Regions from separate parts of the Homo sapiens genome. Here region 2 is linked to region 1. Evidence: promoter capture Hi-C in 16 types of primary human blood cells and fetal thymus (Javierre and others, 2016). All regions are on one chromosome and are shown on one strand. Each heading gives the region's core, a stretch centred on a gene start or on the middle of the fragment in contact. The rest is flanking DNA. Distances are from core to core; before and after follow the strand shown. Region 1 holds the start of GNG11 (G protein subunit gamma 11). Region 2 overlaps LOC130890646 (a long non-coding RNA gene).

The links. The method cuts DNA at HindIII sites, captures the fragments that hold promoters and counts their contacts. A CHiCAGO score of 5 or more calls a contact.
Region 2: a fragment that was not itself captured here is called in contact with the fragment with the promoter of GNG11 in region 1 in 1 of 17 cell types (endothelial precursors); the score reaches 5.0 in endothelial precursors.

The regions. Positions count from the first base shown.
Region 1 is chr7:93,920,006-93,923,411 of GRCh38, reverse strand. It overlaps GNG11 (G protein subunit gamma 11), which reads right to left and starts at 1,677. Exons shown (of 2, transcript NM_004126.4): 1 at 1,179-1,677. The coding sequence starts at 1,274. The region is part of intron 1 of LOC105375402 (a long non-coding RNA gene); the gene reads left to right. RefSeq lists an enhancer at 1,440-2,075. The HindIII fragment of the contact is 4,145 bases long and covers 1-2,003 here.
Region 2 is chr7:94,040,593-94,043,642 of GRCh38, reverse strand. The region is part of intron 1 of LOC130890646 (a long non-coding RNA gene); the gene reads right to left. Among named protein-coding and RNA genes, the nearest start is that of BET1, 38 kb to the right of the region's middle. The HindIII fragment of the contact is 558 bases long and covers 1,391-1,948 here.

The DNA.
Region 1 (3,406 bases), core at 428-2,927:
AAACCCTTAACATGATAGAAGGGACAGCTCATTATAAAAGCTAGGAAGAGCCGGGATTTGGATGTGAAAGGTTAAATTTGAGAAAAGAAATATGTAAAAAGTAAAACACAAAAATGCCTGCATCTTCTAATCATCACTCAACAGTGAAGACTCTTGCCCTTAACAGATTTATTATAACTAGAACAGGAAGGCAAGTGAGCATATTATAACGCTTCATTTCCATTGTTTTTCTTAATTTTTTCTAGTGCTAAACCATAATAAATAAGATCAGTTCAAAATTTTCTTGCTGAAGAGGAAAGGTTAATTATCTTTAAACAATATCTATTCAAAGACCTTTCCTAGTCTACAGGATGCCTGATTGAGTTAAAACAGGAAGAGGGATTAGTGTCTGAAGGAAGGTCTTGATGACCAGTAAGAAATTGAAGTAAAACTTATAAAACTCCCGAGACGTTTCAGTGGAGAATATTGAATACTGGGTCATATGTTCTCAATGAAATGGTAATCTCTATCAATAGTCTCTAAAACTTTAAAATTGTGATCACTAAAAAAATTTTTCATATGCACCACAGTGTATGTATAATTATTTATAAATAAGTACAGATACTACTGTATTAATCGCATACTAATAAAACATAAAGTGAAAATTATAAAGGGATGAGATTTACAAATAAATATAGAAATTCTAATATTTTGTTCCCAAATTTCGGTGGACTGTTCTTTGCATATCACTGAAGGCCACTGGTGAAATTCAAAATTAAATAATGTACTTGTAAGACTTTAAAATACGGTTTTAGAAAATTTCTTTCAAATATCATCCTTTCTAGTAGTGTAAAAGATCAAAGAACCAAGTAGCTATCCGCTTTTTTCCTACAAGTGAGTTTTGAAAAACAGCTGTCTAATGGAAAGCAAGATTTCTTGTCTATTTTCCCCTTCCTAGGCATCTTAAAAGTTAGGACATTTGGCCTTAAATTACTTATCAGATCCTTGCTCCCTCCTCTACCTCCTAGGATTTCCCCACATCAGCTGGCAGTCCCCAGGCACTGCCAAAGGGTGGTGAGAAGAGAAGCTACAAAAAGGGGGAAAAATAAGCTAAACTATTTGCTTTACTGTTACTAAGCAGGAAAAATCGGACCCTGCTTCATTTCAGAGAAGGAAATATTCCGGAACAGCCAACTTACTTGTTGTCTCTGCAACTTCACTTCTTTGCGAAGCTGCTCAACTTCCATTTTCAGTTTTTCCTTCTCTGGCAAATCTTCGATGTGAAGGGCAGGCATTTTCGCCCCAGAACCGGGCTCGGGCTAGCTCTGGCAGCGGAGCCGCTGGAAGAGCGGCGAAGCTCGGCGCGTCCCGAAACAACTGAAGGCCTGGCCCGCCGCCCACCCGCGCAGGATGTGACTGCAGCCCTGCTGCGGTCCCCAGCTCCCCGAGGGCTTGGCTTTCTCCGGGACGCTTGTCACGCCAGCGTGCCCCAGCTTCCTAGGACCTGAGAACTCTGCCTTTTCTCAAGTCCCTGCAACCCAGGAGGCCTGCCCGGGTGCTAGATGAGGGTTAAGTTTGAGACTGGGTCCAAGCAGCTTCCCGCTGCTCAATCGCCCAGCAGGGATGCTGGCCACGGACAGGCCCTGACTCAGGACCTGCCACGCCCGCGGGGGACGGCTGGGCTGGGGCTGCAGGACTGGGAACAGCAGAAGTTTTACTTTGTGTTCTCCGCGCACCCCCGCTCCTTTTTTTTTTTCCGTTTCCAAGTCACATCCGGGTTTTGTTTGTGAAGCTAGGAAAAGGAGTACACTACCCAGCAGGAAATAACTACCCTTCACCTCTCAAAGAGTTTTAAAAATATGCTAGATATAGCTTTTCCCTAATTACATACATAGGTTGTTGCAAAAGTAATTACTTTTCTCTAATTACATATATAGGTTGGTGCAATTAGTTTTGCACCAACGTAATAAATGCATAGTGGAGAATGCGGACGCTTAAGAAAAGGCTGAAAAGAAAATGAAGCTTAGCCCTAATCCCAGAAATACCCACCAGTGTTCTGCTCATTTGTGTCCATCCGGCTTGTTCGAGGCCTAATATGGGTTTATACATTTTGGGCGAGGAGGGGGCAACAGGGTGTGAATATCGTTTACAAGTTGCAAGAACATTTTCTATTATTAAATAATCATCTGCATCCTCAACAGCAGCAGAGTTTGTATTTTTTTTATTTTTCCGGGGGAATGTTATGTAGAGGGGTGCATCAAAGGATGATATAAGAGAAGACAGAAGCAGGAATCTTAGAGTTCTTAACCGAAAGCCTTTCTCCACTCCCCAACCCTAAGTTTTGGGTGACACTTGACACCAAGGATTTTGAATTCCTGGCTCCTGAACCTTCCTGGATGTAGGCAGTGGATTCATTTAGTATTAGTTTCTCCACTTTCTGGCAAGCACTATTTATCTAGCTGTTGCTCTGGAAAGCCAGGAAAAGTGTCCGATGTGAAAAAAGTTTACATGCAATAAAACTTTCCCTTTAACTGTAACTAAAGTCTTGTTGATGGTGGTCAAAAGAGTAGAAGAAAAATCAAACATGAATGTAAGAAACCTTCCCTAGCAGTTGGATATTTCTCTTTCTTTCCAGAGATAACCTCCTGCCTCACAGAGTCAAAGGCAAGTGAAATATTAACTTAATATTTCAGAGTAGCTGACCCAAGACACCCATGACCATTCCCTGTTTAGGAAGCAGGAGTTTTTGTTCGTTCCTAGTTTCTTACCACGCTCCGCTCAACCTCAATGAATAAATTAGAATGAAAAAAACAATGAACCACTTAATGAATACTCCTGGCGTGTAGTTGCAGCTCTGCCACAGGCCATCACTGAAGAAGTCATTTAATTTTTCTTAGTTTTGGTTTTCTAATTTGTAAAATGTATAGTAAGGCAGGGAAGTAGTGAATCAGCTAAGCTATGTTGTGTCTCTAATTGTGTTGGTATGTCTATATATGATAAATCATTTTCACAAAGAAAATGTTTAAGAGCTTCACTTTCAATATTTGAAATACCAGGGTTTTCCAAGCTCAGAGTAGTTAGAGCATCTACTGAAGTTTACTTGTAAATAAGCAGGGAGACTAGACAAATGTCCATATCTGTCTTGTGCACTAATTCATTTTTAAAATTTTCTATTACTTAAATTTAAAAGGTTGGTCAAAAATACCTTAAATTAGTGAAAGTAATCAACGTGAATGTGGCCTAAATTAAATAGGTTCAGCACCTAAGTTAAATAAATTGGTTAAATAAATTATTGTGTTTTTGTTCTTTTTTTTGTTTTTTTGTTTTTTTGTTTTTTTTTTTTTGAGACGGAGTCTCGCTCTGTCGCCCAGGCTGGAGTGACTGGCACGATCTCCGCTCACTGCAAGCTCCGCCTCCCGGGTTCACG
Region 2 (3,050 bases), core at 420-2,919, 120 kb before region 1:
TTTGAGGTCATCTCAGTAGCTGTCAGTAGACTTGCTATTGCCTGGTCCTATGAAGGAATCTTCCTCTTCATCCTCTGTGTCTAAATGTAGAGCAATAGGGCTTTGGATTGTTCTGAGGATGGCAAGAGACTGCCTGAAGTTAGTTAAGCAATAAAACATGACTGAGAATGAATCAGCAGTGATTAATCAACATCTCAAACTTCTTTTGGGAAACTAGAGATGAGGAAGATGGGCTCAATATGCTGAAAGTGAGTTAAAACCAGTAGAGACCTGAGGCCTGACGCCTGAAGTGCCTCCTCAAAGTTAGTAAAACCTCCAGAGTAATGCTCTTTGGTGGCTCTTTGATTTTTATGTATGTGTATGCAGGAGGTGCAACATACATGGCTCAGGCTTCTTGTAAATAGGATAAGTTTGTCACAATGAACAATTGAACTTTTATTATGCTTTCCCTGCACAGTGGGAAGGAGTAGGTATTTATTAATATGTACAATATATTGGTGTGAAAACTAAGGATAATAGAAATTAAGTGACTCAACCAAACATCACAAGCCATGAAAAAATAAACTAAGGAGAAGAAGAATTTGCAGGGAGCAGAGTTTCACTTTCACGTAGGTAGCAAGGTGGCACTTCAAGGTAGAAACCCCTAATATATGGCCCAAAAATTGCAAGTGTATTTTGAAAGTAATGGGAATCCATGAATGTAATTTGATAAGGAAAGTGATACTGTGGTGTTTAATGGCGATTATTCTCATAGCAAAGAACAGGATTCAGAGAGAGAAATTATCATCTATATGGATATACTCTAAATAATAATAATAATAAAAACTGTCAATTGCTATGCTCTAACACCTTTACTATGGACTTTACATGCATCTCTCATGTAATCTAAGAGGGAAGTAATATTAGTGGCTCCATCATTTGAATAAAACAACCCTTGCTATAGAGAGGCGCTACAAGATCCTCTATAATCAAATAGCAAACCCTGGATTCAAAGCTACCTCTACTGCTTTCCAGTGGTCATATCTGATACCCATGGTGTGTGCTTAGAAAGAGGAAGTGAAGATGTACTTGAGTAGCATTCACTTTAAGTTAAGGCATCATTATCTGTTTGGGCTGCTGTGGAAACATCCTACTAATATCTGTTTTTACCTTCTATATTTAGTATCTATTGCTGCACAACAAATCATTCCAACATTTAGCTGCTTAAAATAACAAATAATTATATTCTCACACAGTTTCTGAACGTCGGGAGGCCAGGAGCCATTAAGCTGGTTTGTTCTAACTTGGAGTCTGTCAAGATGTTGACAGAGGCTACCATCATCTGAAGGCTTGACTGTGGCTAGAGGATTTGCTCCCTAGTTGGATCACATGGCTGTTGGAGTTCCAAGCTTCTTGCTAGAAGTTTTTAGTTTCTCATCACAGGGCAGCTAGCTTCCTCCAGAACAAATGATTAAAGAGAATGTGGTAGGGGCTGCATTGTCCGTTTTTATTAGGAGTGAATCACTGAACCCATCCACACTCAAGAGAAGAATTATACTCCAACTATTGAAACAAAGAATATAAGAGAATTTGTGATCATACTTTAAAACCACCACACCCTCTCTTTAATCAGCTCTACATGCTGCAGTTATTTTAATATTTTATAAACAAATCTGATCATATCTCTTTTTATTAAACGTTAAATGTATCTCATTGGTTTGTAGATTAAAAACCCAATGTCTTTGGTCCTACTTGATGTGGCCACTGCTTCCCAACCCTGCCTTTGTCATCTTCCACTCATCTTTGGCTTTCTGGCAACACTCTCTTGCTTTCAGTTCCACCAATATGCCAAATTCCTTTTGGTTCAGGACCTTTGCACCTGCTGCTTCTGTGGCCCAGAATTATCTTGCTTTTGCTTTTACTTATTCATCAGGTCTTGATCCAAAAAAAACCATCCCTCAGGAAAGCTTCTGTGACTCATAAGCCTTTATCAGATCCCCAGCTACAAGTTCTTCTTGTAGCTTGTACTTCTCCTCTGTGCCACTGATTATAGTTTACAGTGTTATATTTCTTTGATTTTTTGGTTATGGTTTTAAGTTTCTGTTTTGCTCACTATTGAATCCTAGTGCATGGTACAGGATATGGCTGGTATTAGTGTTTAATAAATGTATCTGTACTGAATATGCTACTATGAACGGAGGATGAGTTGATGGAACAAACACATCTGCTTTAAGATCCACTTTAAGAGTAGGCAAGTACATCTTTCTCTCTTATTTTTAATAACGACCTAAAGAAAAACAAACCTTGATAAGATATGCCAACAATGGGGGAATCAACAGAGGAAAAAAAATTAGAGGAAGATAAGGAAGGGATGTATGTAATCAGAACTCTGCTGTGGTATCTCAGAGCTGGCTAGCTCAGTGAAGAGATGCAGCCCTAATCTTAATGGCATTGATCTGGAACAGCTTGGACTCAAACTTTAGAATATATCTGCACATCAGGGTGGCTCCACAGGTGGAGGCTTACTATGCTTTAGAACTTTTATTCTGATGTTTTTCTTCATCAGCTGCCCATGATCCCATCATCCACAAATAATCTTAAAAAATGCACACATGGCAGTGTCTGGGCAATAGCCCATGGGTAAAAGCAGTACCTAGAGAATTACTTCTTTAGTTTCATCCTCTTTGTTAACATTTCCCTAGGGAGGCTCCTGGATCAGAACCATCCTAGGATTTGGCGACTCTCTTCCAATAGGTACAGGCTTCCGGGTGAGAGTTGGAAATTGTCCACAGCTACTCATTGTGTCGTCAAACTCTTTGCACTTGCAGGGACTAAGATGCCTGCATTTCTGAGGTTATTCACATAACAAGTGAGAAACAAAAACAGTTTGTTGGGAAATGAGTTCAGTTCCAGCAGCACAGCTCTGAGCCTAGAGATAAAACAAAGCTGCTTCTAAGAATAAAAGCAAATTCCGTGTTTTTCTCATTATGGTTTCTCCTGCATGAGTCCCTTAAAACCTCTTCTGTTGTGTCCAGGACTGAAAGCTTCTAGTGATCCGACTGAGTCTCTCT